Regions from separate parts of the Homo sapiens genome. Here all the other regions are linked to region 1. The links are contacts of gene promoters, found by promoter capture Hi-C in blood cells and fetal thymus (Javierre and others, 2016). All regions are on one chromosome and are shown on one strand. Each heading gives the region's core, a stretch centred on a gene start or on the middle of the fragment in contact. The rest is flanking DNA. Distances are from core to core; before and after follow the strand shown.

What was found. Contacts are between HindIII fragments. The CHiCAGO score rates a contact against its expected background, and 5 or more counts as called.
Region 2: a fragment that was not itself captured here is called in contact with the fragment with the promoter of PFN2 in region 1 in 1 of 17 cell types (megakaryocytes); the score reaches 5.2 in megakaryocytes.
Region 3: a contact is called between a fragment that was not itself captured here and the fragment with the promoter of PFN2 in region 1, in 2 of 17 cell types (endothelial precursors and megakaryocytes). The highest score is 5.6, in endothelial precursors.
Region 4: a fragment that was not itself captured here is called in contact with the fragment with the promoter of PFN2 in region 1 in 2 of 17 cell types (erythroblasts and megakaryocytes); the score reaches 6.2 in erythroblasts.

Annotation. Positions count from the first base shown.
Region 1 is chr3:149,968,216-149,975,987 of GRCh38, reverse strand. It overlaps PFN2 (profilin 2), which reads left to right and starts at 5,093. Exons shown (of 3, transcript NM_053024.4): 1 at 5,093-5,263; 2 at 7,438-7,630. The coding sequence starts at 5,132. LOC646903 (a long non-coding RNA gene) reads right to left here and starts at 4,709. Exons shown (of 1, transcript NR_036538.1): 1 at 2,746-4,709. RefSeq lists enhancers at 3,830-4,360, 4,361-4,892 and silencers at 4,738-4,797, 5,028-5,107, 5,318-5,557, 5,568-5,617, 5,638-5,897. The HindIII fragment of the contact is 10,546 bases long and covers 1-7,772 here.
Region 2 is chr3:150,472,033-150,479,804 of GRCh38, reverse strand. No RefSeq gene overlaps it. Among named protein-coding and RNA genes, the nearest start is that of TSC22D2, 68 kb to the right of the region's middle. The HindIII fragment of the contact is 1,221 bases long and covers 3,345-4,565 here.
Region 3 is chr3:150,414,968-150,422,739 of GRCh38, reverse strand. The region is part of intron 1 of TSC22D2 (TSC22 domain family member 2); the gene reads right to left. Among named protein-coding and RNA genes, the nearest start is that of TSC22D2, 11 kb to the right of the region's middle. The HindIII fragment of the contact is 474 bases long and covers 3,163-3,636 here.
Region 4 is chr3:150,248,879-150,256,650 of GRCh38, reverse strand. No RefSeq gene overlaps it. Among named protein-coding and RNA genes, the nearest start is that of LINC01213, 14 kb to the right of the region's middle. The HindIII fragment of the contact is 773 bases long and covers 4,779-5,551 here.

The sequences.
Region 1 (7,772 bases), core at 3,844-6,343:
ATCATTCACAATCTTTAAGATCACCAAGCATACAAGGAGGCAAGCCACTATGGGTGAGGTAGATGAAAAACAACATACAACTTGTTTATATATTGGAATGGTTTCATTGGGCAAAAACAAAAGATTTTAAAAGCCTCGTTTAATACTGACTACTGAGATACAGATACAGAGTACAAAATAAGTAGGTAAGAAACATTTAAAGAAATGAAGTATGGAACCACAAAGATCGGGAAGGAATACAAGAGTATCAGGAATAACTGGGAAGATACGCATAACAATAAAATGGAACTTCTAAAATGAAAAATAGACTTTTAGAAATTAAAAAAGTCTCAATGTATGGGTTTATCAACAGATGAAACATAGTTGAACAGTGATATGGAATACACATCTGAGGAAATTACCCAGAATAGAGCACAGAGAGTAGTAAGATGAAAAAGATGAAAGAAGTTAAGAGATACGGAGAACAGAAGAGGAAACAGAAACATATGTATTCTGAACTCTAAGACAGTAAAGAGAACTGAGAAAAAGGAATTAATTGAAGAGATAGTAATTGAGAATTTTACAGAAGTGATGATAAATATAAATCTATTTTCCTAAGTAGAATAAAAGAAACCCAAATGTAGACACATCATAGTGAAACTGTAGAAGAGCAAACACAAAAAGGTTCCAAAGTAGCCAGAGGAAAAGAGACAAATCATCCATATGATACAACAGCAGTGACAAAAACCAAAATGAAATGGAATAACATCTTCAAAGTGTCCATTTTGCATTGTAGATCCAACCCATTGTCAGAGGATGAAAGTGATATAAATACATTTTCAGATAAACATAGTTTCTCACCAACAGACTGCTATTAAAGGAACTTCTAAAAGATGTACTTTAGAAAGAAAAATGATCATAGAATGATCTGAGATATGAAAAGGAATAGTAAGTAAATAAAATACAAACATGTAAGTACATATATATACACACATACATAAACATCTGTGTAAGAGTCTGGAGAGAGGTGTCCAGACTTAAAACATTCTAAGGTTTTTGGATTGTCTAGGGGTAGTGTTTAAGATATTTAACTTAAAACTTTATTGTATTAAATATGCAAGGCAAAAATTTAAGGGTAACACTAAGAAAAATTGGTAGCATAAATTTGAAAAAAAAAAAAGAATAAAACACACATGCCCGACATTTTTTTTAAAGGCAAGGAAGAAAAAAGCATAGAAAAAAAAAGAGACTAATAAAATTAGTTCAAACAAGTCCAAATGTATGTCAATAATTACAATGAATGTAAATGGAATAAACTTGCCAATTAAAGGTTATACTGCCATATTGGATAAAAAAACAAAATCCAGCTGCGTGAAGTTTATGAGACACAAAATAAAAAGGACAGAGAAAGGTTGAAAGAGAGGTGGGGAGCGAAAAGATATATAAGGTAAACACCAATAAAAAGAGAGCTGGGATGTTACCTTAATATTTGACAAAAATTTTAAGACAAAAAGCAGTATTGGTGATCAAGAGGGCAACTACTAAATAATAAAGAATAAATTCATCAGAAAGGAAAAATATAACAATTTAAATTTCCATTTTCCTAATAGCCTCAAAATATAAAAAGCAAAAATTCATAGAATTTCAGGGTAAAATGGCCAAATGCAGAATTATAAGTTCTCCTTGTTCTTTACTGTAAAAATCATACATAGTGAATACATTCAAAAGATATTTGTATTAGCTTGTGGGATTAAGGATTTTTCTCCATTTTCTAAACTTTATTGCTGTGATATTGATTTTATAATTCATATACTTTTTTCAGAAATGAACTATGCGGTGAAATTTTTAAATAACTGATGGTTAATTATGGTTTTACTAAATTTGGGGGTAATTACTGTGTATAGTTTTAGATCCTGCTCCCAATGATTATCAGGTTGTGTACATTTTAAAGATAATTTCTTGTTTGTGTTTTGCTAAAATTTCAAATGATTTTTACATGGACTCAAGTGGTTCAGACACCACTTGACTTACACATTAAAGAACGTGGCTTACTACACAGTTTCTGCTTTACTCAATAAGAATAAAATAATTCTGGAAAGAATGCATAATAATGCACTCCAAACTTAAATATGCTACTGATTGTTAATGGCTACATTATTCTGGCTATTTGTATCAACAACACAGCCACAACTTTTCTAAACTTCTGCCCAGATATTACAATTATCCTAGGGATTACTTACTCTCAGAAAAGTAGAGGAAGATACAAATTGGCAATTCTTTTTCTCACACTGATACTCCTTTGGACTTAAGTGAACCAATATTGTTATTACTAAAGCTCAGTATTCCACCTCTATTTATACTTTCTGAAACGTATAAGCAACACTTAGATGAAATAGGAAGGGATCACTGTACACAAATGGAAAATAAAGCAGCATGCAAGGAAGCTGGTTCTAAAGAAAACAAGCACAGGTGGCCGGGCATGGTGGCTCATGCCTGTAATCCCAGCACTTTGGGAGGCCGAGGCAGGCGAATAACGAGGTCAGGAGTTTGAGACCAGCCTGGCCAACATGGTGAAACCCCGTCTCTACAAAAAATACAAAAAATTAGCTGGGCGTAGTGGCGGGTGTCTGTAATCCCAGCTACTTTTGGGAGGCTGAGGCAGGAGAATCGCTTGAACCCAGGAAGCGGAGGTTGCAGTGAGCCGAGATCATGCCACTGCACTCCAGCCCTGGTGACGGAGTCTCATCTCAATAAACAAACAAACAAAAAAGCACAGGTTACTTTATTACAGTACTGAAAACCAAGACAGCACATGGACTCTCTTTGAATATATAACCTAAAAATTGAAACTGTAAAATTTAATCTATTATACAGAATTTTTTTCATAGTTGTTTAAATTTTACTGTTTGCAATTCTAGAAAAATAACATCATGTTGGAAAAGTAAGCAGTAATTTAAAATGAATTATATTTTGAAAAATATAGAAGAATGACAAGAATTCTAAATTTTTGTGAATATTTTACCCAAGAAATGTGTTTTAGAATCTTTTGAGATTTGAATTAGAAAATATTGTTGGTCAAATTCTTTCACTGTTTAAAGCCAACAATAAAAGAATAGGAAAAGAATGTAGTTATTTCCAACTCTGTGCTATAACAATAAGATAGTAACGTCTAGAAATTATATCTTAAAACCTTCAGAGTAAATTAATAAAAATTCAACATACTTCAAGTTATCACTGTATTTTTTCTATAATTACCTTTTCGTTTACTGTTTCAATTTATTGAATTATACATACAATGAAGAGCACAATAAATGTACATACAGCTTGATGAATTCTCACATAGTGAGCCTGTGTTACAAGTAATCTATTATTAACTTTTAAGATGATACAGTGCTATGATCGAAGGACTAAAATGATCAACATCACCATAAAAGGCAGAGTCATAAACAAGAACAATTAAGTGTAATTAAATCAGGTGGGAGGCACACTTACAAAAATGAAACAATTTTTGGTTCACATTTTACACCACACAGGTATTCTGTATCTTTAGAACATGAGAAAATACATATTCTCAGTCTGATAGGTCTCTGACTTGGGGGTTTCTTTTACTGTACTTTTTTTCTCTCTAGTAGCTGAACATTTTAAAGCAATCAGCAGAAAAAATATAAAACTTCAGAACCAATTAGACTTTTAAAAGCAACGTTCTTGCCCTTTCCAGAGATACATTCCTTAATCCTCCTACAAATCATGACCTCACACGATAACTTTAAGGGTGAACATCAACTTATCTACATTTTGGTGCTTTCTTTCCCTTAAGTGGCAGATGGTTTCTATTAACCTAAAATTGAAGTCATTGTTGGGGGACCCCTAATTCCATGTCTAGTCCTAGTGCCCAGAGGCTACCAAAGACGATACGAATAGCTTCTCAGGCACTCTACCCACCGTTTACCTTGTTAATACAAATCTTTCCCAGACCTGGGTCCCGAAATTATTTTACCCTGCAGAGCAGAAATGTTACGGTGTTCATTCAGTGAACTCTTCCCTAGTTTTTAATCTTTGTATTTTCTGCGTATACTTCAAGCCACCAGTAACTTTCCCAGTTACCAAGAAACAGTGTAACACAGGTCGCTATTTGTTTTGTTCGGAATTTACGAGCAATTTAACCACACGTGATTAGCAACATTAAGGGGGCTCCTCCAGGCAAAGAATCCACAGAATGAGAGGCCCTTGGTACCCAAATGAAGCAACAATGAAAGATCGGCGAAGCTCAGCAAGGTTCCTGAGCGCCACGGACGCCTGCTCTGATTTCAGGTTGCCGGCGCGCGCCCGCGGGTCTGCCTTTATGGACGAGGCGCAAGAGGGATCCAGGAAAGACGGTGCCCTTAGAGACTCGGAGATTAGCGTGGGCAACCCTGCCACCAGCTGCCCCTGCCACCAGCCGCCCCCACAACAAAAAGGAGGAAACGCTCCGCATCCCGTCACCAGGACAACTCTGTAACCCGACACCGAGGCTCAAGATTCCGCATCCCGGGCAGCGAACACAGGAGAAAAGCACATCGCGGCCCGGCCGCGGGGCTCCAAGGCGTCCGTGCCGCCGCTGTTCCTGGGGTGCCGAGAGCGACGCGGGGTCCACCCTCTCCGCCGGCCCGAGGTCCGAAGCTCGGCCCGCCACCGCTCCCGGCCGGCGCCTCCCGCACGTGGCGGCCGTGATTGTCCCGGGGCGGTATCCCTCCGCGCCCCCGCCTCAGTCTCCCCCCGCCCTTCCCGGGACCCTCCGTGCCCGGGCGCCGCGGAAGGATCGCACGCACGCGCGCGCGCACGCCCAGCCGTGTCCGCGGAAAACGGAGGGCGCTGCGGTAAGGAGCAGCCGCCACAGGCACAGCCGCTTCGCAGCCTCCCGCCGCTGGTTTGTCAGCCCCGCGGCTGCGGGCGGCCGGGCGGCCGAGCGCGCTCTGAGGTTCGTCCCTCATCGCTGAACCCGCGTCCTCCCGCCGCAGCTCCTCGGGGAGGGGGGCGGTCGGTGCCTGCGCAGAGCCGCCTCCTCCCCGCCCCCGCCCCGCCTCCCCCCGCGCCGCCGCCGCCCGCTACCGCCGCCGCCGCCGCTGCGCCTGCTGCTCCTCGCCGTCCGCGCTGCAGTGCGAAGGGCTCGAAGATGGCCGGTTGGCAGAGCTACGTGGATAACCTGATGTGCGATGGCTGCTGCCAGGAGGCCGCCATTGTCGGCTACTGCGACGCCAAATACGTCTGGGCAGCCACGGCCGGGGGCGTCTTTCAGAGCATTACGGTGAGGACCAGTGGCGGCCGGTACCCTGGTCCCTGCACCGGAGCGGGGTGGCCGGCCGCGGGGGCACCGCAGCGCGGGGCTGGAACACTGAGGGCCGAGCCCGCAGGTGTGCTAGGCAGCGGGCGCCGAGGATGCGGCTGCCGGGCGGGCGGGGAGGCCGAGGCCCGGGGACGCCCCCTCACCCGGGGCTGCGCTGACAGGCTGGGGGCGGCGGCCGGACTCCTTGCTGGCCCTGGCCGGGCGCCCCCGGCGTTCCCAGCGTCGGTCCAGGTGCCCGGGTTGGGGGAGGGGGCACGCACCGGCCAGGGCAAGGGGAGGGGTTCCTTTTTTCCTCCTAGTGCGGTTCCCCTAGGTTCTCTTGAAGCCCTGAGGTTTGCTATGCACGTTCTGGGGTGGAAGCGGGGGTCGGGGATCCGGGCTGGGGCGCGCGGGCCCCGGGTGGAGGTCCCTAGGCTCTCTGGCCGGCTCTTGCTCCGCGGACAGCGCGCCTCCCGCGCCTCCGGCTGTGGGAGGCGGCGGCCCCGGCCCGGCCCCCGGGATTCTCGAAGCGACTTTGCGTAGGTTTACCGATGTCCAGGCCTCTGGGGCTTGCGAGAGATGTACGCCGACCGCGTAGGTGGATTCGTGAATCTCGACTTCAGCTCTAGCTCTATAGGTTGTTTTTTTTTTTTTTTTAAATTCTCCAAGATGGCGAACTGCCATTGATTTCTCTTCTCATATGGAGATTCATCGATATACGGTTATCCCCAGTTATGCAACATAGCTCAAAAAAGGGGTGCTTTTCGGGGGCTTTCAATTATCTGCGAAGACCAGGAGCACACTTCACTTCTCTAAGTCCCTCCCTCTTTAGTGGTGGCAGTAAAGGAACTAATGCAGTTTTATGCTTCACATTGCCTGATTTTCTTGAGACTTGATGGTTTTGAGTTGGTTGCAATATGTTTGGAGAATATTTGCCACAAAACCTCCAGCTTATTGTTTTGCCTGTTTCTGCCCAAGGCTGTTTCTAAAATTATGATAATTGTACTAAATACGAGACCATTCTCTTTATTTCTTAGCACCACGCTCCCTTTCCATTAAGCACCAAAATTCAGGTCCCCTATTAAGGGTGCTAATTATTCTTTTACCACTTAACATGGTTTAAAGTCTAACTTTAGAACTCAGTCCTTGATAGTAGTACTTTAAGGTCTCGTATACCCGCAGTGGACTACAATTCTTGTAGGGAATTGGCATCTGGTCATCAACTTTTTTCCTGCAGTCCTCTTGTCTTTGTGTGTGAGTTCCCGCTGTCTGACTAGGAAGATTGCGGGAGTGTGCTTGGAAATGGCTGGGGCCTGCTATGACTCTGCAGTTCTGATGGGGGCGACGCCTTCCTTCTTATTCATGGAATGTTAGAATGCACGTTTTCTCCTTTCCGGTTCTGGTGGCTACCTCAGTTTCTTTCCCAATCTCCCTCCATTTTTTCTGTTTTACTATTGCCTACCGCAGTGCTGTAGACAGAATCCACTTTGCGTTTGCCCAGAAAGAAAACTGATTACTGAGATGGGAGGGGAAGGGAAGTTGGAAAGAAACGGGAGTCGTGGCTAGAAAAATAGGAGGGAAATATGAATTTGGAAAAGCACTGATGTCCAGGGGTTGAAGTCCATCTCATCACGTATATTTCTAGTTACTCTAAGCAGAGAAGTGAACACATCAAAGAACAGGCTTTATTTTGGGAGACTTTGAAGCAACTTTAAATTTGATGAAACATGATTTACTGTAATGGGACTGAATATGATAGACCAGCTTTGTTCAGAGTTGATAGCTGAATTTTTACCATTACGTGAACACTTTCAGGCACCAGCTGACTTAATACAGTTTATAAATAACTCTTTAAGTTTGCACTTTGTCTAGTGTCAACTGTCAACTCTTTACAGTTTCTTTGTATAGACTGGTCTTGGTTAAGAGACGACATCATTAACTGAAGTCAAATCAACTCATGTAAAATATGTGATTATATAGGATTAAATAATTATTTAGAAAAGACTGAATCTTGGTTTTACATTAGTGAAATGTGGCTATCTGGCAGTGGTAGCATAAGCCTAGCTACAGCCCTTCCTGTTACATCAAGCCCTAAAAGGAGTTAACTACAACTTAATGTGTGTGTGTTTTTTTTTTTTCTTTTTGGTGGGGGGCAGCCAATAGAAATAGATATGATTGTAGGAAAAGACCGGGAAGGTTTCTTTACCAACGGTTTGACTCTTGGCGCGAAGAAATGCTCAGTGATCAGAGATAGTCTATACGTCGATGGTGACTGCACAATGGACATCCGGACAAAGAGTCAAGGTGGGGAGCCAACATACAATGTGGCTGTCGGCAGAGCTGGTAGAGGTGAGTAAGGCATTCTTTTGGTTAAAGTTGCATGCCACATTACAACTTATTAAGCAGTTTCTTTTAACATTTTGAATAAAAGTTAGTCCATAATGGCTATTAAGGTGGTTTTTGTGAACTGCCCAGCACTATGGAGAAGCAC
Region 2 (7,772 bases), core at 2,706-5,205, 500 kb before region 1:
AACAAATGGACAATTTGGAATATCACCTTAGGTTTTATTGACTAGGTAACAAGTCCTTTTGCAAAGCAGAAATTTCTCAATTTTTGATTTCAGCAAAATTGAAGAAAGACCTAATTGAGTTTTTAGCTTGTTGATCATGAAAAATAATATCTGAAGAGCAATCACCATGTAAATTTTGGCATAGAACTAAATTCAAAGACTGATGTTGATGTAACAACACTCCCATCCTTATCTACTTAAGTCAACAAGGTTTTTCAGAGCCAACATCTATAAAAGTGAAAAATAGAAATAGAATTGATGCTTGAAACAAAACTAACTCAGATTTAAAAAAAGAAATAAAATTGATGTTAAATATGTCTTGTTCAACCATCAAGTAATTTTTTTTTTTTTTTTTTTTTTTGAGATGGAGTCTAGCTCTTTCTCCCAGGTTGGAGTGCAGTGGCATGATCTCAGCTCACCCTCTGCCTCCGGTGTTTAAGTGATTCTTGTGCCTCAGCCTCCAGAATAGCTGGGATTACAGGCATGTGCCATCACGCATGGCTAATTTTTGTATTTTTAGTAGAGAAGGTGTTTTTCCATGTTGCCCAGCTGGTCTCAAACTCTTGGCCTCAAGCCATCCACCTGCCTTAGCCTCCCAAAGTGTTGGGATTACAGGTGCAAGCCACTGTGCCCAGCAGCAAGTAATATTCATCCATGGATACATGAATTAACTTTAAAAATTACCAGCCATAGGCCAGGCATGGAGGCTCATGCCTATAATCCTAGCACTTTGGAAGACCAAGGCGGGTGGATTGCCTGAGCTCAGGAGTTTGAGACCAGCCTGGGCAACACGGTGAAACCCCATCTCTACTAAAATACAAAAAATTAGCCGGGCATGGTGGCATGTGCCTGTAGTCCCCAGCTACTTGGGAGGCTGAGGCAGGAGAATTGCTTGAACCCAGGAGGCAGAGGTTGCAGTGAGTGAGATCGTGCCACTGTACTCTAGTCTGGGCAACAGAGCAAGACTCGGTCTCAAAAAAAAAAAAACAAAAAAAACCAGTTTTTATAATAATCTAAATACTATATTCTTTGCATCTATTAGCATTTGTATTAAAAGTTTTAGCCAACCTAAAAACATGTAAAAAAAAAAAACATGTAAAAGTATACATAGGGCTGGGTGTGGTGGCTCATGCCTGTAATCCCAGCACTTTGGGAGGTGAAGGCTTGAGCTCAGGAATTCAAGACCAGACTGGCCAACATGGTGAAATCCTGTGTCTACCAAAAATACAAAAACATTAGCCAGGTGTAGTGGCATGCACTTGTAGTCCGTTACTGGGGAGGCTAAGGTGGGAGAATTACTTGAACTCAGGAAGTGGAGGTTGCAGTGAGCTAATAAGTGTGCCACTGCACTCCAGCCTGGGCCGACAGAGCGAGACTCCATTTCAAAGAAAAAAAGAAGAAATTCTGTTAAGCAAGAATTCTATATTCAGCAAAATTATTCTTCAAAAATAAAGGAGAAATAAATTCTCAGGCAAATGCATTGCCAGTATACTTGCTTTAAAGAAATGATAAAGAAGATGCTTCAGGCTGAAAATGAATGATACCACATAGTAACTCAGATTCATACATAGAAATGAAAAGCACATGAAAAAGCAAATAAATGGGTAAATAGAAAGGAATATTATATATACGTAAATATATAAGTATATATATAAATCTTTTAACATTTTTATAAAATGTAAGATTGCATAAAATGATAATTATAATCTTGTATTGAGTTTGAGTTTACAACCTTGAAATAATATATATGACAATAATAAAATAACAAAAAGGGGGGAATGCAGCTATATTGGAGCAAATTTTTATAATTTTACTAGAATTACATTCATATTAATTTGAAGTAGATTTTGTTAAATTAAGATGCATATTATAATCCCTAGAGCAAACACTAAAAAATTTACAAAACTCAAAACAATGTAATAATTTTTAAAAACTAACAAAGGAATAAAAGCAGCACACACAAAAATATCCATTTAACACAAAAGACAGTAAAGGAGAAACAAAGGAAGAAGAAACACATGGGACATAAATAAAATAGTAAAATGGAAGACAAATTGAACCATATCAATAACTACATTAAATATGAACAATCTAAATGCTATGCAAAAGTCAGAGATTGACTGACTAATAAAAGCAAGATCTAACTATATGCTACCTACAATAGACACATTAGATTTAAAGATAAAAATAGGTTGAAAGTAAAAGGATGGGGAAAAATGCCATAAAAACAGTACCATAGGAGAGTTGGAGTGGCTATATTAATAGACTTTAAGACAAGACATATTACTAGAGACAGATGGATGCTTTATAATGAATATGTAACAATTATAAATGTATATGTTCCTAACAACAGAGCCCCTAAATACATAAAGCAAAAGTTGATAGAATTAAAAAGAAAAACACTATTCAAAGAGACTTCAATACCCCATTTGATAGAAAATTAGTAACGATATAGAAGACTATCAACCAACCTGATACAACTGACATTTTTAGAACACCACACCTAATAACAGCAGAATACACATTCTTTTTAGTGTACATGGAACATTCTCCAGAATAGACTGGATGCTAGGCCATGATACAAGGCCCACATTTAACAGAATTGAAATCATACAAAGTATGTTCTCTGACCACAACAGGATTAAATTAGAAATGAGCAACAGAAGGAAATTTGGAAATCTCCAGATATTTGGAAATTAAATAACATGCTTTTAAATAACCCATAGTCAAAAAAGAAATCATGAGGGAAATTAGAAAATATTTTGAGTTGAGTTAAAACAAAAACACACACAAAATCAAAATTTGTGGCATGCAGTTAGTGCAGGGAGGGAAATTTATAACATTAAACACATTAAAAAAAGAGAAAAATCTTAATCTAAGCTTCCACCTCAAGAATCTAGAAAAAGGAGTAAAATAAACTCAAAACAAGCAAAAGGAAAGAAATAATAAAAAGTAGAAATCAATGAACTTGAGAAAATAAAAACCAATAAAAATCATGTTCTTGGAAAAAAGTCAACAAAATTGAGAAATCTTGAGCTAGACTAACCAAGAAGGAAGAGAGAAATAGAATATTTTCAAAATCAGAAATGAAACGGTTCATCACTACCAGTCCTATGGAAATTAAAGAGTTCACAGGACTGCTATGAACAAATTTACATTAACAAATTGGAAAACTTAAATGCAAAGATTCTTAGAAAGATACAAATTACCAAAACTGAACTAAGAATAATTAGAAAATCTGAATCTACCTATAACAAGTACAGAAATTCATTTAATAGATAAAATGCTTCCCATAAAGAAAAGCTTGGGTCCAGACAGCTCTGTATTCATTTCCTATTGCTGTATAACAAATTGCTGTAAATGTAGAGGCTGAAAATAACACCCTTTTATTAGCCCTCAGTTTTGTATTCCAGAAGTCTGACATGGTGAGACTAGAAATCAAGATGTCTGTCAGACTGAGTTCTCATCTGGAGGCTCTGGAGAAGAATCACTTCCAAGCTCACTTAGGTTGTTGGCATAATTCATTTCCTTGACCTTGTAGGAGTGAGATCCCCATTTTCTTGCTGGTAGTCCCTCAGGGGCTGCTTTTAGCTCTTAGAGGCTGCCTGCATTCCTTGTCATGTGGCCTGCTCCATCTTCAAGCCACAATAGCTCATTAAATATTTCTAGTGCTTCAGATTTCTAGCTTTCTCTTTTTCCATCAACCAAAAATCTTTCTGCTTTTAAAAGGTTCATGTGGCTAATCTCCCTTTCTTTAAGTCAACTGTTTCATATAACATAAGCTAATCATAAGAGTAAAACCCATCATATTTACAGTCCCAGGGCATTTTAGAATTCTGCCTGCTGCAGCTTCATTGGTCAATTCTATCAACTGTAGTTACAATAGCCAAAACAATTTTGAAAAAAAAGAATAAATTTGAGGATTTATACCATCTGATTTCAAAACTTGCTATATAGCTACAGAAATCAAGACACTGTTGTATTGGCATAAAGATAGGCATATAGCTTAACAGAATAGAATCGACAGAAATAGAGTTTATATTTACATTTGAAGGTTTTACATTTATAGTCAATTTTTGACAAAGGTACCAACATCGTTCAATAGAGAAAGGATAATCTTTTCAACAAATAATTCTGGATCAATTGGATATCCATAGCAAAAGGTAAATTCATACCGTTGTTTCATACTATATACAAAAATTAACTCAAGAGGGATAAGAGACTTACATGTAAAAAGTAAATATATAAAATTTCTAGATGAGAACATAGGAGAAAATCTTCATGATGTTGGGGTAGGCAAAGATTTCTTCTTAGACTCAATGTGAACCATAAAAGAAAACTTTGATAAATTGGATTTTGTCACATGAAAACTTTCTGCTCAAAATGAAAAGGCAAGTCACAGACTGGGGGAAGATATCTGCAGTACTTATATCTGATGAAAGATTGTGTATAGGATATACAAAGACATTCATCTTGGCTGTGATTGTGGTTACATGGCTGTATACTTTTTCAAAACTCAGCAAGCTTTATTTAAAATGTGCATTTTAGTGAATAAATTATACCTCAATAAAGCTGATTAAAATATATTAAAAGGATATCTTATTTGATTTATTTATTTTTTGAGATGAGTCTCGCTCTGTCGTCCAGGCTGGAGTGCAGTGGTGCAATCTTGGCTCACTGCAACCTCTGCCTCCCAGGTTCAAGCAATTCTCCTGCCTCCCAAATAGCTGGGATTACAGGTGTCCGCCACCACACGCAGCTAATTTTTGTATTTTTAGTAGAGACGAGGTTTCACCATGTTGGCCAGGCTAGTCTCAAACTCTTGACCTCAGGTGATCCGCCCACCTCGGCCTCCCAAAGTGCTGGGATTACAGGTGTGAGCCACCGCACTCAGCCTAAAAGGATATTTTAAATAATATTTACATGCTTTGATTAGTCTCCTTGGAGTACTGCAGCTTAACCATTTTTTGCTTTTTCACTCACTCAGCTTTTCCCCCTGGGGATAGGTAGTTTTTTAGCTAAGTGGAACAGAGCGACGCAAGGGGTTCAAATAAAAGATATATAGCCCTGTGGCATCTTATCAGAATATCAATATATTTGGAGGCTAGACTGGTGCAGTGGCTCATGCCCGTAATCCTAGCACTTCAGGAAATAGAGGTGGGCAGACTGCTTGAGCTCAGGAGTTCAAGACCAGTGTGGGCAACATGGCAAAACCCTGTCTTTACAAAAAATACAAAAATCAGCCAGGTGTGGTGGCATGAACCTGTAATCCCAGCTACTTGGGAAGCTGAGGTGGGAGGATCGCTTGAGCTTGGGAGGCAGAGGTTGCAGTGAGCTGAGATCCTGCCACTGTACTCCAGCCTGTGTAATAAGAGTGAGACCCTGTCTCAAAAAAAAAAAAAAAAAAAAAAAAAAGAAAAAGAAAAAAAAATACATGTATTTGGAGGCTAAAAGGAATCTGGGTTTTGGAGCTAGGGAACTGAGTTTCTACTCTGATTACATATCAAAAAATCCTAGCTTTACCCTTTGTGAGCCTCACGTCTCTGCTTGTCTACAGTGAAATGCCCTACCCATGGCTCAGCGATTTGTCTTATTCACATGATGTGAAGGTAAAGGGCTCAAGAAATGTTGGCCACTCTTATTCTAAAGAAATTCTCATGTAACTAGACAAAGATGTATAGAGAAACAATTTTGATTACAGAAAAAAACTGAGTGCCATCTAAACATCCATGAGTAGGGGACTGTCGTGATATGACTTATTATACAACACTATGCAGCTATTTAAAAGAATAAAGACAATCTCTATGTTCTGTCATGAAAAGATGTTTGTGATTACTGTAGATTTGTAGAAAGCAAGTTGAAGAAAAATATGTTTAGTATAATCTCATTTATGGTAAATGAAAACACAAAATGTGTGTATCTCAATTATGTGCAGAGAAAACTTAGCAGTTTTACTCTGCAGAGTGGGATTGCAGATGAATAGAGAGGGGAGATTTTGCCTTGTTTTTTTTGAAAATTAACTTCTTTATTGAAATATTTCAATGAGCATGTGCTACTTATTTTTTTTTTGAAGTTTTTTTAAATTATACTTTAAGTTCTAGGGTAGATGTGCACAACATGCAGGTTTGTTACATATGTATACATGTGCCATGCTGGTGTGCTGCACCCGTTAACTCGTCATTTACATTAGGTATATCTCCTAATGCCATCTCTCCTCCCTCCCCCGACCCCACGACAGGCCCCAGTGTGTGATGTTCCCCTGTGTCCAAGTGTTCTCATTGTTCAATTCCCACCTATGAGTGAGAACATGTGGTGTTTGGTTTTCTGTCCTTGCGATAGTTTGCTCAGAATGATGGTTTCCAGCTTCATCCACGTCCCTACAAAGGACATGAACTCATCCTTTTTCATGGCTGCATAGTATTCCATGGTGTGTATGTGAGCATGTGCTACTTATTAAGAAAATACACCTTTCATTTTTTTTTTTTTTTTTTTTTTGAGATGGAGTCTCACTCTGTCATCCAGGTGGGAGTGCAGTGGTGCCATCTCAGCTCACTGCAAACTCCGCCTCCCGGGTTCAAGCGATTCTCCTGCCTCAGCCTCCCGAGTAGCTGGGATTACAGGTGTGCACCACTAGGCCCAGCTAATTTTTGTATTTTTAGTAGAGATGGGTTTTCACTATGTTGGCCAGGCTGGTCTCAAACTCCTGACCTCAAGTGATCTGCCCACCTCAGCCTCCCAACATGCTGAGATTACTGGCGTGAGCCACTGGGCCCAGCCAGAAAATATACATTTCTAACAAATAAACAATCAGCACCAATCCTCTTGAACTGAGAGTGTTCTGATTGAAGTCTGTTTGGTATTTTGTGGATGGAGACTTACCTTTCTTCATTCCAAGGAGTGTATATTGTCATATATTGTTCTCTTTTGCCCATCCCAAATGGCCATCTCTTGAATCACAGAGCTGCCTAATGAAATCAAGTAGATGAATCAATGAATAGGAATAAATTGGGTACAGTTTCAACATAATTTTTTCCAGAAAAGGGGTTCTTTCTTCCTGTGACCTCTAACCTATTTAAGCACAATGGGGAGAAAAATGTGGGCTATGGCCACCCATGGGCTGGAATCTAGTTCTACCACTAATCTGATCTGAGATCTTGGGCAGGTCACAAGCTCTCTGGATTCTCTGAACCTGTTTCCTTATCTGTCAAATGAGCCAAATACTTGCTTTCCCAAGGCTTACTAGGGTAGTTGTGAGGTTCTAAAGAGATAAAGGAGGAAAAATACACCTGAGCCCAGGAGGTTGAGGCTGCAGTGAGCTGTGATCGTGCCACTATACTCCAGCCTGGGCGACAGAGTGAGACCCTGTCTTAAAGGGAAAGAAAAGGAGGAAAAATAGATTTTTGTCAGGAGTGCTGTAAAACTTGGTAGTGTTATTATTTGGAGAAGGTGATTAAACCTATCTAGGTGACCTTGGATTTATCACAGGTGCTATTTCCTGGGCCTAAAGATTGCCTAGTCTTTTTCCCAAGCTTTTGGTCAAAAAGCAGTGAGGAGAAAGAGCATTGCTTCAACCAGATGCCTAGAAAGGGGTGAGAAAGAAAACAAGAGCAGCATTTACTGTATGCTTGCTGTGGGCCAGATCCAAGTTACGTGATTTACATATTTTATATTGTTTGATCCTTACAACAAGGCTATGATTTGGCTATCTCAGGCTACATTTAGAGATCAGAAAG
Region 3 (7,772 bases), core at 2,150-4,649, 450 kb before region 1:
AATCAACACTCTTCTATATCAAATGCCTTTACAAATATCTATCTTGTTTAGCAGTTTAACAAGGCTGTTCTTAGGTATTCATATAAACTAAGTTAAGCTATATCTTCACAATATAAAAACTTTTCTTAGGCTCTGTTAAAAGTAGCAAAGGTTTGATTAACAATGAAGAATTCTTTCCTGGGTTGGACTTGACACATTTCCACCTTCAAAATCCATTTATTTATATGTGTTTTTTCCTCGTCTAGGGCAAAAAATGGCGCTGCAATTGTTTGGCAGCTTTCTGATTCTAGCATTGGTACAATGTTACTTTAGGGGTAAAAGCCTATTTATCATAATTATCTTTCATTTCTACCATTCCCTAGGGCTTTCACCATAGACTCTTAACTGATGGGCTCTTCTGGACTATCTCCCAGTAAGTATGATTCACCTCAAATCTAGGGACTGGTTCCACGGGGATTTAAACTTTTGACAAACCTGTTCCCTCCTCCTCAGCAACTTCCATAGTCTCCCCCACCTTCAACCTGTACATCTGGAAGCCAAAAAAACTTTGCCACATAACTTTTAAAATTCTTAGCCCATGCTGTAGCAGAACAGCAGCAGTTAAGAATGTGTTTATTAGGTACCACACACTATTCTAAGTGCTTTACACTCATTAACTAAATTCTGACAACAGCCCTAAGAGGTAGGCACCATTATTACTCCCATCTCATAGAGGAGAAAACTGGGTCAGATAGAAGTAACTTGCCTTACATCACTGAGCTAGTAGGTGGCAATCTAGTTCCAGAGTTTATGCTCTTAAACCACTACACTAAACACATAGCAGTGTTAAAGTTTGACCTCTTTAAAAGTCTGTCTCTTTATCTGTTAACTGGTTACATTACTACCTAGCTTTGCAGGCTAAAGAACTGAGACTAAATGTAAAGTTCCTGGCATACAGTGAATCATCAATAGCATTATTTTAATCTACAAAATGAGGTTTAGATACAACATGGCAATTCTGGGGTCCTATTAAGAGCCTTAAAGTCTGTGCAGAATTATTAGTACAATAAAAAAAAAAGACTTCCAAGATGCCAGAGAATCACCAAAGTAACTGTTTGATTAATTAGGAGACTAATACGTGTATTTCTCATTGCTTGCCCTACTTCAACTCCTTTCTATTCTTTTAATCCTTTTTCCACTTTTCTCCTAACTAGGTCTAAGGCAATCAAAGGCACTGATTAGACCTGCTAATAACAAGAAAAGCTTAAGAGGCTTCTACCTACTGTTTATTTAACGGCTTACATCCTCTTAAGATGTATTTGTCAGGCCACTTTTTTCGCTGTACTTAGAAGTCAGTCTGCCAAATCAAATGAAAACTAACTGAACCAATTGAACATTCAATCTGGTTTTTTTTTTGGTTGTTGTTTTTGTTTTATAAAAAAACAGGCTTGCCCAGGAACATATGGGAACTAGTTTGCTATCCTCAAAGGTCTGTTTGGAGACCTCCAGTTTAAATGGAGTGACTCAAAGAGGAAGGTAGTATATACAAAAGAATAAGAAAGAGTATCTTGGAAGTTATTCTGCAAGTCTACAATTCAAAATTCATTAAAGAGTACTCACAATATATTTATAAGGATGATATTCTTTAAAAGAACTTTATTATTTATTTATTTTTTGGAGACAGAGTTTCACTCTTGTCGCTCAGGCTGGAGTGCAATGGCACAATCGCGGCTCACTGCAACCTCTGCCTCCTGGGTTCAAATGATCCTCCCGCCTCAGCCTCCCGAGTAGCGGGGATTACAGGCTCCCACCACCACGCGCAGCTAATTTTTGGTATTTTTAGTAGAGATGGGGTTTCACCACGTTGGCCAGGCTGGCCTCAAACTCCTGACCTCAGGTGATCTGCCCGCCTCGGCCTCCCAAAGTGCTGGGATTACAGGCATGAGCCACCACACCTGGCATCTTTAAAAGACCTTTAGATCCTCTGACTTTGGAAATACAAATATTTAATTTGAATCAAATTCATATTCCAGGTAAATTGGTTCCAAATGAAGTCATATGACTTGTTATAAAATTCCAGCAGTTTTACAGAATAGTGCAATATCTCTTAAGTCAAATGTAAAGGTGAAAAACGAACATATTTGTAGTTAGTAGTAAATACTGGGATGTGGAAAGAACCTGTGAAATAAAATACTGTATAAATGGACCTAAAGTTTTCAGCACATATTAGAATACACTTAATTTGCAAAAGCTAACAATTAACAATCACTCTTTCTACATACATTCAAAGTGAAGAAGCCACAGTACATGGTTTTCTATAGTACACAGTTACACAATCTATGTACTACATAAAACTTTAAACAGTCTAGATTTTAAGGGTAAAAATTTAGATAGTCTTATAAGCTATGAAATTTTGTTTCTGGGATACTATAACTGGGATGTTATCCATAAACTGAGGGGTTTGTAGCAAACAGCAACAATAATTAGTCTCCAAACACTGACTAACAGATTAAAGGAGTCAAGTCTGTGAAATCACTGATCAAGGAAGTAGAAGGGAAAAGAGCCATCTGTAAAGATTGAAAGGCTTGATCATCAGAGAGACTTCTATTTTGGAATGGCATAAAATTGAGGAGATTAAGAGCCCAAGGAAAAGGCTGTTAATGGGATCATTTCAAGGTTACAGTCCATGAAACCTGAAAGCATGAAGAGGCAACTGAAATTAAAAATTTTATTAGAAGGAAATACTGACTTTTTATGCAGCTGTGGTCACAAATTCTCTTCCACTCAAGAAATAAAATTTGAAACCAGCTTTTTAACAGTTTATTTGATATTAATATAAACTACCATTCTAAATATAGAGCCAACGAAGCAATTCTAGGAAGACTGAGATGTGGTTTACACTGTACTTCAGCCACCTAAACAAAAATGCTGTTTTCCTATTTGTAAATATTCTTTAACATCACTGAACAAAATACATTCTTTTCTCTCTGACTTTATATACTCAATAGTCCATCACATTAATTTCCAAGTATGTGAAAATACTACATCAGAAAATGACTCAAAGCATGTGGCATGTCTACCTGTTTTTGCAAGACACTATCTTTGTAGGGTAACTAAGTACAACAGGGAGAAAAAAACAAACATTCCATACCTCAAAACTAAGCTACAAAAATTGTCAAAGCTTAAAGCATAAGGTACTTGAGCACTCAACAAACACCTCTTTCTCTTAATCTATGCCAAAATTCGACTTCAGAGATCTCTAAATAGAAACCAGGGACATACAATATGAAGAACATCAACAAGCACCATCTCCAGTATTATTATCTGGGGAATTTAAATGATTAAAAAAATCCTTTAGGTAAAGGGTTACAATACAACAAATCAGTGGCTATGGTAGTTCTTCCTTCTTCCTAACTTATTGTGTGCCAAGTAATAAAACAAACTTCTAACTCTGGGAATATTCAAAAGCACTGGCTTTAGGTTAAAGGTCTGAATATGAGTCTAGGCTTTGTCACCCAATACCTAGGTGACTCAAATTTTAAGAGTCTCAGTTTCCTTAATCCATAAGAAAGGGGGAAGGGAAGAAACCACTTTCTTACAAATTGTTGGAAAGATCAAATGAAAGTCTATATACATAGGACCTGACACAAGTAAGCTTGCTTTGTGTTTAATATAAGGTTAGTTTCCAAATTATGCTACCTATAAATCAAATTTTGGTAGAGTATCTCAACATGTACCAAATGTTCTGACATTATCAAGGTAATATTGAGGGAAACAGAATACTTAAACTTAGAGCCAGGGGTACCAAAATATTTAGCACATTTCATTAGGTAAGAATTCTGATTTTTGGGACTCAGCGCTCTGAAGGTATTCCCTTAACACAGCTTTATCATAAGATTATAATTTAAAATGCAATAATCACTAAAAGGATACTGAAATCGTTTCAAGATATATATTATTTTAACAATAAAAGCTTCCAGAAATACCTTTAACAGCAACTTACTATAAAAATCGAAATTTCTTACCATGACATTTAAAGTCCTTCACTCTGGTTCTTGTCAAATTAACAATACCATTTTCCAAATGATAGATTCTCACTCTTTCACATCATTATACAAACTGCCTTTTACCTCTGCTTGGAAAACTATCCCCTTCTCTTCTTAGTGACTTAATCTGAATGACCATTTTAAGATTTAGTTCAAGAGTTAGCCTCAAAAGAATGTACAAGTAATAATGGGTTACTTCTAAGGACAAACAGGGTGGCTGGAGGACAGAGGTAGCAGAGAGGCTTTCGATTTTACTCTTTTATATATTTTGAGTTTTGAACTATATAAATACCTATGCAGAGAATAATTTTTAAATAGAAGTCAGTCTACTACCCTCCCAATCCCAATCTGATCTGATGTCTCAAATTGTTCCCATTAGCACCTTATATTACTCCATCACCACCTCCAATGTATGTCAAAGTATACATCTGATCATCATTTTCATGATGATGAAAATGCCTGAGATCTAGGAGGGCAGCATAGTCTCATATTTGTATTCCAGTGCTCACTACTCACAGAGCATCATGAAAGCTGAATGACTGATAAGCTGTTTTAAATGTTTTCTTGGGCAATCAACCTACTTAATGAGTATTTACAAACTTCATTTATTGCCACACAATAGTCAAGTGGCAGGAAAGGGGTAAAAAGAAGAAAGTTTAAGTTTGCAGTTCTCTCATGAAGCACACTTGAATGTATGGTCTCATATACATAAGGCTAGAAGGAATCTTAAAATTTGACAAAGTCTCAAAAAAGAAAAACAGACAAGTGAAATGACTTGACCAAAGAAACCAGCTAAATGATAGAAGAGCCAGGACTGGAACACAATTCCCTATACTTCTTACAACATCATGACTCGTCTAGACTAAAACATCATCTCCTTTTTTCTGACTACATCCATACCATACAATTACGCTTTCATATTAAAATGGAAGATTCTTGGTATGATTTATAACATGTAAAGGGGTGATCTGGGAGAGCAGTTTGGACACTGAAATATTAACATTTCTGTGATACACGTTTGCCACATATATTATGTTACAGACTGTTCAAATTACTTGCACACATCATTTAATTCCTTAAAACTCTCCCAGGTAGGTACAATCCCCATTTTTCATAAGAGGAAACAAGGCATCTACACCAACTAGCTCAAAGTCAAATGTAGCAGTTAGATTTTAGCCCGGGTATGTCTGACTCTACTGTCTCTGTAATGGTCATTCACATATGTTAACACATAATTAAACACGCTATTGGTTTTATTTGATCAAAACAGCTCCTCCCTCCTTTGTTTTGTCTTCAAAGACTAGGTAGACGGTATGCCAAGCAAAGATTTGTTTTGCTTTAACATATAAAACCACTTGATAAAAACTAAATACTAACTCTACTTTAGAAACTAGAGGCTTTACACTTACCTTTGGGAATCCTTTATTCAGATTAAATTATATACTTGTGTAATAAGATGAACAGCCTAAAACTAACATTTAAAACTATGCCATCATTATTTACAATAATTGACACATTAATCACAAACTCCATCTTCTACAAAGCAATATTCTTTAGACAAATTTTAGGAAAGGCTTATGGGAAAAGAAGCTTTAAGTAATTTAACATTTAGACTTTACTTATTTGTCCTGCCTACCCTAATAATAGGTATATGTCCCAGGCAAACACTAATAAAATTAACTCAGTTACCTGCAGAACTTTCACTAACATCACAAATAAATGTACTACTTAAAAGGATGGAAGCACTTTTTCTTTTTAAACAAAAATTAGCTTGGGTACAAAGGAATCAAACTAAATACTAAATACTAATTATTTAAGTCTGATTTGAGGCTTTAAATTTGAGATAAGCAATCCAGATGAAATTTAATTCACCTGATTTAAGAGCAGAAATCATGCAATACTTTCATACAGGAAACAATCCATCAATATACCTTTAATATTATTAAACCAAATCTGAAGAGTATACCTCAAAGTATACTTCCTAAAGTCATGGAATAATGTATAGGAATGGTGCAAACTGGCTACTGTTCCTACCTTTTTATGAGGGACACCCAGTTTTTGCCCTAAGCAATGCCAGATTAAGAATATAACAAATATCGAGTAATTTGATATGTTCAAGAATTGCTGTGGGAAAGACATTATACCAATGATTCAGGTATACATATTCTCTGTGGACTCAATACAATACCATCGAAAACAGTAGCCTCAAATCACAAGCCCACTGGTTTAGTATAAAGAAAAACCATACACTTAAATAATTTATTCTAATTTAGGAGTTTTGCTACACATACTCCTTAAATATGATTAATATTTCTTACCAAAAATCTGCTTTTCCAATTTAAGGAATTACTTACGGAATATCATTCAGGCTATGTTTAACCAGACAGACCTGCTTTTGTAAGGCCTCTCCTTCCTCATACTTTAAGTATTTAACGAGTAATGCAATTAAGAAATAAACAGAATCTTCAGAAAAGGAAATACACACTGGACTAAAACAATTCTTCAAAGAAAGAATTAGAACACCATTCCTCAGTATTCACAAGTGTTCCTATTTCTTTTGAGACTATATTTCATGCCACTCCACTGTACTTTCTTCCATTTTGATTATCTGCTATCATTCTACACTTCCCCTTCCCCAACTCCTGCCATTTTAGGAAAGGAAGGTCAGATTCCTTTTATACTTTCCTAACTACCATTCCTTTATTAGGAAACAGATTTATTTGGGTTTCTCTACTACTTGATTGGTGGGGCTGCTATTTGTTCATAACTGCTTCTGATCTTTTCTGGTGCAGAGAAAGATAGACTCCCATTCCTAATTAGGAAGTACCAGATTCATAGATCCAGTACCATATTTCACTATTTCCAAATTAGTGCTATCAGAATTATTTTTTTTCTTTTTACAGACAGGTCCTTGCTGTGTGGCCCAGGCTTCAGTGCAATATTATAATATAGCTCACTGTAGCCTCCAGCTCCTGGGCTCAAGCAATCCTCCTCCTACAGCCTCCCCAAGTAGCTAAGACTATAGGTGTTGGCCTCCAGACCTGGCTAATTTTTAAATGTTTTGTAGAGACAAAGCCTCGCTATGTTGCCCAGGCTGGTCTCCAACTCCTGGCATCAAGCAATCCTCTGACCTTGGTCTCTCAAAGTGCCAGGATTACAAGGCATGAGCTACCGCTCCTGGCCCAGGATTCTTAAATAACAAATGAATTGGCATTATATTTATTCTCAGGAAGTAGAGGACATATATACCCCTACCACCAGTCCTATATAAAATGACTTCTCATAAAGGTGATTTAGTTCAGGGGTTGTGATCTCCTAAAAAGAAAAAACAAGTGTTACTAAAATAGTCAGCTGGAAATCTGTATTATTCACACACATATAAGCCATCATGTTTTCTAAAAAAATTTACCAATGTTTGGCCTATATGATTTAGTGCACATAAAATTTTATACAGTATGTGTCACTGTGAATATAAAAGGCCACACTCCTACAGATATAGCTCATGGTTTAGGAATTTCGGGTAGTTTGGAAAATCGTAAGCCTTTTTGGAAATCTGTCATTTCTTTTATTTCAAGCCACGTTTATGAATAAAGTATGTTTTAGTAATCCATGTGGTATCCATCAGTAATCCCTGATGAATACATCAGTATCAGTTTTTATGCTAAACAATAATGACACATATATACGAATTTACATTTTTACTACTAACTCCTCAGTAAGAACACTCTTAAACGTGTAGATAGGCAT
Region 4 (7,772 bases), core at 3,916-6,415, 280 kb before region 1:
GACCTATTATGGCTCTTATCTACAACATCTTGGGCTTCCCAAAGCTTGAGGTTTTGAGAATCAACCACAGACAGTTGACTTCCAGTGCTACTCCCTAGGAGAAATTCCCTGGCTGTGAGAGCTCCTTGCTTAAATAAGGCAGGAGTACTTTCTCAAAGAAGTCAAGGATCATTTCACTATCTAATCTCTGTGAGAGCAATTGGATAAGGAAAGGAGTCTTTGGGGCCTGCAGCAGTTAACAATAATCTAGGTTATGCTGCTATAATGAACAACAGTCAAATCTCAGTGGCTTTAAACCAAAAATGTTGATTTCTTGCTTATGTTACTTCTCCCATGTGGGTTGGCAGGAGGACTTTGACATAATAGAGTCCCCATACCAGTGACCCTCATTCCAGAGAGGAAGAGTTCTGGAGCGTCTTGCATCAATAATTCAATATTCCAGCCAGGAAGAGACCCACATCACTTCTGTTCATTGGCTAGAACTAGTCACATGGTTCTGACCAAAGAGACCAGGAATTACATACAATCTACCTTGTGTTTGAGAGGAAGGGGAACTGGAAATATTTAGAGAACAGCACTAATGATGTCCACAGACCCAACTGTAATGATTAACATTCACAGGCTAGTATTTGACCCAGACTAACTTGAGGCAATTGCAGGCAGCATTTCTAAACCTCTTTGTATTTCAATCAAAAGAAATCACTTTCAACATTTTGCTCCTAATTACTCTGTATCCCTCTCAAATTGTTCCTACTTCAAGGTGAAATCAGTGAAATGTTTTGAGAGCCCTGGTGCAGAGTTTCAGGCCTGTCACAGCTTCTTTGCTAACATCTTCACCTTGGCACTTGGGTTCTCCTTGAGTGTCCTCCCCACCCCCTTCACCAGCCTCAACCTCACTCTGCCTACCTCATCACCCTGGGAGCTGCTTGCATGCATCACTGTTTTGGTGGATGGCAGCAATACACAAGGGCACCTCATTGTTGGAAAGGAACTGCCTTCCGCCTGCCAAGGACAAATGCAGACACACAAAGCAATATCAAGCAAGACTTCACATCAAAGGGAACCCTGCCTGGGCTTGCCAAGAGCAGGCTGCCTCTGTGTCTTTCTCTTCAGCCTTGTCAGTATTCTTAGGGTCCAACAGGCCTATGGTGTCCCTGCCAGGCCGCCTCATTCACCCAGCACTCCTGTTCACTCTGACACCAAAAGCTCTGGGCTCTCCCTGAATCTGGGCTCGACAACTTGAACGGAGCACAATGCCAAGTGTTTAAAAATGCTGCGTGATTAGGAAGGAAAATCTCTGAGAAATATTTACTCTGTGAATTCTATGTGAGTAGGAGAACAGAATACTTTACCTTGTTCAGTGAAGCAACACATAGAAAGTTAAGAAATCCCTGCCTAAGACCTAGGAAAGCTTACCTAAAGAGGAAGGAAGAATGCTCTATGAGCGGAGATTTGGGAACATTGGAACCAACACTGAAATTGACACTGGCTGGCCTGGGCATTCAGACGTGACTGGGGAAGTCGTGTGACAAACAGAAGATCCAGAGAAACTTTAAGTTCTGCTTTAGAACCAACAGAAGAATTCAGGTTCTGTTGCTTTAAGGAAAAGAACACGTTTGTTTTACAAAGAGGATGAGGGAAAAATGGAAAAGAGAGACTGGCAGGGACAAAAAAGGGGATTGAAACTTTATTTTAGACAACAGGTAAGCCTATCTGTCTGTTCTGGATGCTAAAGAACTCTTCTGGAAGGATACACTCATCATCAAAATACAATGGAAGTTACAAAGTTTTAAAGTCAAATATTGTGAGAACTTGAAACGGGAGATGGTCTTTTCCAATTTTTTTTTTTTTTTTTAGTTATGAAAATCTAAGGCTCAGGAATGTCAAGGGGCCTTTTCACAGTCACACAGCTGCTTAGTGACAAAGCTGTAGCTAGAACCCTGAGCTTCTGACTCTCAGACATGGGTTGTTAAATCACAGCGTGGTATAATGGTGCTACGTGTGGCACGTGATCAGAGAGCACAGGTCTGCAACTTCATCAAGTAAGGTATTTTTAACATGGTGACTTCAACACTTTGACTAAGCTCTTCCACTGTAGCCAACCCTACTGCACTGTTCCAACAGCTTCCCAGAATGGTAGTAATTAGAGCAAAGAAAAAAAATAGGACCCAGAGAAAATGTAACATTTCTTAGTAGTGGGAGGAGGTGGAAATAAATGCATTTACATAACTTTCTACTTTCAGAACACTTCATGTGACTACGGGTTATTAACCTAGGGTCCATGAAGAGAACTCAGGCATTCCAGGACAGGAAAAAAAAATTACATCTTTTACTGAACTCTCACTGAAATGCATCATTACCTTCATTATGAATGTAGGCAACAAACCACAACAGTGTTTGCAGTCTTTGGACTTTGTCACTAATAGAAATAAACATTTTCACATTGTATTAGCTGTTGCAGGTATCTTGAAATATCTTTACCTTTTTTATCACTTTGCTGTGATGGTAGTTTTTAGATCTGCTGCTAGATTTTGTTAAATAGTGCTTAATAAGCACCTATATTACTATACCACAGATTTTTATAAATGTTTTGATAATCATATTTCAATATAATTGGATTATTTTATAATTCTATGTATGTATTTATTTTAAGCTGTTAAAGGCATTATTCTAAGAAGGGATCTGTAGACCTCACCTGTCAGAGGGGTCCTTGGCATGAAAGTTAGGAACTCTGACATGTGAGGGGTCAACGAGTGTCAGGTTGCCAATGGATACCCATGTCACTAGGTCCCCTGTCCCTGCACCATCATCCTGTGGGCTCAGAATGAAGGGATGCTTGCTTGTCATTCTGGGTTGGAGAGCTGCCAATATCTCTTGCCACAGACTGTGTTTGTAATTCCAGGGTGTACCAGCCTTTGAAAACTGACATGATTATATTGCAAAACGTGACAGAAAAGAATCCATTGTTTGGCGTTATTATTAAAATTAAGACTGATATGGAGTTGGTAATATTTATATTAAGAGGGCTGTGTTCACACGTCCATGGAAGTTGACTTTTCTGCGGGAACTGGCACTTTAAAGTCCAGTCAAAAGGAAGTCAATGTTTTCAAAGATGACAAAAACTGATTTGGCATGGTCAGTACATGTTCAGACTATTATTAAGTAAGAAAAATAAAAATTTTAAATATTAAGACACCATTTCCACCTCTCAAATAGGCCAAGAGTTTTAAAGGTGGTAATTCTCAGGATCGATAGGGTGTAGTAAAATAGATATTTTCCTAAACTACTCACAAGACCAAGGCTTGACATAACTTTTCTAGATGGCAGATTGGGCTTTATGTTTTAAGTGAGTGCTTTTCACCCAGTAATTTCACTTCTAGGAATTTATTCTGCAGGCAGAATTACAAAGATATTCTTCAAAATATTATTCATAACAGTAAAAAAATTGGAAACAGCGTGAATGCCAACAACAAGAGCTTGGTCAAATTATGCTACATCTGTAGGATGAACTATTACGTAGCTAATTTAAAAAATAGCCATTCTGACAATATGTAATGATATAAGGAAATGTGTAAAAATAATGTAGACTTAAAATACAACACATAAAACTGCAAGTATAAAATAATTCTGTTTTTTAGTTTTAAAATATCCTTCGTATTTCTTTGCAATCTTACTTATGTACATATACCTATAGAATATGTGTGTGTAAAAAACTAGAAGGAAATATATCACAGTGTTAGGGTAGTGGCATTTAATTATTGGGTAGAGGCATTTTAATTATTTTTATTTACTTCTTTATGTTTTTGGAACTCCTGACATTAGGAGAAGCAGTAAGACACTGTTTTTAAGAAGATGAGCTGGTGCCACATGGGCTGATGTGTTTGCTGTGCCTTCTTGTTGCTCCAGACAAAAGTTTGTTTTGCTGGTTGCTACTGAGTGTTATTTTTCTTGTAACCTTTGCTCTCTTTCCCCACCATTGGCTTCCAGATGTCTGATTTCACCAAGTTCAGGGCACTGGACGCATGTGCATTTTCCCCTCTAACTTGAACAGGAAATTCAGAAACTGCCTTAAGCCTGCCAGCCTGATAGAGCCAGCACCAACATGAATATCAACCCAAAACCTCTTGGCCTAATGAAAAATAGCTCGATGGGGGAATGTGAAGCTTTTGTAAAAACTGGTGACTGAGTTTGAGATAGGGAAAGAATTTTAGGAGGCATCTGCCCCTCTTTCCTCTTGGTCAATGATGGCTTCTGCCTAGTTGTGCTTTCTGCATGTTGTGGGTGAAAAATGGAGATAAAAAGTAATTATTCTACAGCAACTTAACCTTTTGCTGATATTTGGTAGAAAGTGATAAACTTTCAACTTTCTGTCATTATTTAGCATGTAGTGTATAAATTAGCTGGAAAAAATTCTGTTTGAATAGATGAAGACATATTTTCTACGGATTTTACCTTGAAAGTGAGAAATACAAAGGTAATTTTCTGTTTGTGAATGTTTGTTTTAGGGTTCTATTATTTGCAGTGCCATTTAGAATTTTGGAAACATTAGAGTCTATATTCCATTCCTCCTGTCTTTCTTAAACTTGGATCAATTTTCTCCGGGTGAAGTTTAAAATAATAAAAACTGGGAAACCATTTACTCAATGCCTCCTGTTGCATAGCAATCTAAACAAACAGGCCCCTTTCCTCTGTTAAGAACTTCCAATAAGACAAATCACAAAGCTTGTGTTTAAAAAAATGATTTCCAAGTTCCCCACCCCCAACCCCATTTGAAAGCTTCCTTTAAAAAAAATAGAGGCAAAAGATTGTAGACAAGAAACTTAATTGACTTTTTAGTGAGTCACTTCTCATGCTACTACAGGGATTAGAAAACTCTTTTGTTTGCGGTGAGGCCAGAGGATCTGAACTGGACACATAAATACCAAGCCAACCAAAGCAGGACAAATAATAAGAAATAATAGTAACCATCAGGTGGTCAGTATCTTCTGTGTAGCAGACACAGTGCCATGTAAGTTATCTAATCTTATAACAAACTTCCTGTGTTGGATATCTTACATTTGCACCCCCAGGTCCTCTCTCTACTCTTTTCCATCCTGTTCTCTGCCCAGGGAGGATGACCTATTTAGACAGCAGCAAAGGGCTTGCTTACCCAAGAGTACTGGCAGGAGAGAGGAAGGAGGAGGTAAGATCAGAGTATGTTCCTGGCCCCTTCTCTGCTGGTTCCTGCAGGTTGGCTGTGTCCCTCTACCCAGAGATACAGCTCCTGCCAGGCAGCCCTTTCCATTCCACTCCCCTCCCTGGCTTCCAAGAATGGCTCCTCGATGCTTCATTCAGGTCTAGTGGTGGGAAGAGCTCCCTGCGGTTGCCAGCTCCATATCGAAGTGAACTCTTAGGCAATGTCTTCTCATGCAATTTATTGGGAAATCAATCAGAGATTGACCTTTGCTAGACAACCTCTAGTGTCTTGTAAACATTATTTAAATTTTAAATTATTTGTCTTTTCAAAATCATGGGCTGTGGCACTAAGTAGTTTTGGCCTTGACTGTAAGCTTTGTCAACATTGAACACCTGGACAAAGTATTAACCTAGCAGAGCCTCAATTTACTAAAAATTAAAGAGTAACAGTAATATCTACCTTACATGGTATTGTGAGAATTCAGTGAACATATATAAAATTTTATTACAAGATACAGCACATAAATCTAATTTTATTCCTCTTTTTTCCCTCTTTCTTTCCTCCAACTAGGGGCCAAATTTAGCTAACATTTACTGAGTGATTATTATGTGTCATGTACTAGTTTAAGCATTTTATACATATTAATTGATTTACATCAATCCTATATACTATTATCCTCTCTTTTACAGATGGAGAAATCAAGGTGCAAAGAGGTTAAGAAATTTGTCCAAGGTTTGCCAGGACATAGATGGGAGTACTAATTCACAACTAGATGGTAAACTTTTCAAGGCAAAACCAACTGTATACCAAATTTCTTTCTTTCTTTCACAGGGCCTAGCATGATGTCTTCCATATGCAGGTGTTCAATAAGTGCTGATTTTATTCCAGGAGCAGAGGCAATTAAGCTAGGGTTGCAATAGTTAGGGAGCCAGGAGATCCACATGGTCAAAGTAGCAGCTGCTTTCACGAAGCAGTAATGCGTGCCGCTCGAATTTGGATGCAAGGTCCTGGTAACTGAGGAATGGGCTGTTGCTGGAAGATAGAGCAGAGAGCAGCCAGTTATCTTGCGGAGGGGTGAGGAAGGAAAGAGAACTTGAGCTGGGAAGCCAGCAACAGTGGAAAGCTCCCCAAGTGAAGCTTGAGCTCCTCTCTCAGCAATCCTCCTGGCCTTGAGGAGACAGTAAATCTCACTCCATCCTGTGGTTATACCACTGAAGCATCTTTAAAAACACTTAGTCCCAAACAATGGGCCCTTTCCTGCTGCTTTTCTTACCTGAGCCAGCAACCTCAGAGCTTTCTGGGATTTCTGTTAAAAACACCGAGATCCCAGGACTCCTTCTCTATCAACACAACTGTCGCTCACGCCAAGCATGGGACATATGGCCGAGCATCTGGGAGGGAGAAGATGGGCCAGGAGTGCTGGCAAGCGGCACATGCTTTCATTATAATGGATGTGTCACAGTAAATCATTTTGTAAATGTCCCCTCCCCCTGTGCTGCATAGCAAAACATAAAGGAAGACGAATTACCCACAGCACCACAATGCTGGTTGAATATGCCAAAACTTGTGCCTGAGACACTTAGTGACATTTCCTTAAATATCTTTTTAATATCTTGGCCAGGTTGGGCATACCAATGGCATTACAGAGCTTGCAAATCAATACCCCAGCTGTTTTGGTTTTTTAATAAAACTGAATGTGATCTATTTTAAATGATTGCCTTCCACCCCTCTAATTTTCTACAGGGCTTTCAGAGAGCAAGACTGTGGGCAGCCCTGAAGTCAGGACTTGGCTCTGAAAGGGTAGTTGTTCCTTTTGGGGGTGGGGTAGAAATTAAACATTTGCTGGATTACTGTCATCATTTTTTCCTAGTCCTCTAGTCTCCCAAATCTAGTGATCTACATGATTTACAGGACCAACTTGTGGTGTGCTGCTGTTTTTAAAAAATGAGTTTACCAAAATGTTGCAGAAGAATCTAAAGGGCTTAGCTTCTACAAATCAAATTGATTTCTCCATTTGGGATCAGTCCAAGTGATTTATTCATAATTTTATTAGAGATCTTTTCCAAAGGAAATTCTTTGTCTCTGATTATCACCATAAAGAAAATTGAAAGAGCTTCTACCAAGAATTCAGTCATATGCATGTGACTTTTGCCCCTCGGAAAAATGGAATATGTAAAACTGTCATCAACAGCAACCATCTTGGTTACTGGGCATCCACAGTCCTCAATAACAACAAGAATTCCTCACGCAAATAGGGAGGTGGTCCTGTCACATTTGGGGTCCCAGTAAGCAGAAAAGCCCAATCAAAGTACCTATAAATCAGAGTTTTATAAAGATATTAGTTGACTGCTACTTACGTGGGTCATAAATGTGACACCACAATAAACAATCAAGTTTCTTTGAGGATGTATTTGAGGACTTTTTTATTGGCTTTGAGAAATCACAGTACTTCCATCAGGAAAGTCTCATCTGCTTGTGCAGTTTATTGCTTTTATTTTCTGTAGTTTATACAAAGTGTCTAAGCTTTTTTCCTTCCAATATTTTTCCTGGGCTACATTAGTACAAGTCCGTGTTTTCCCTGGGCCAGCAGGACCAC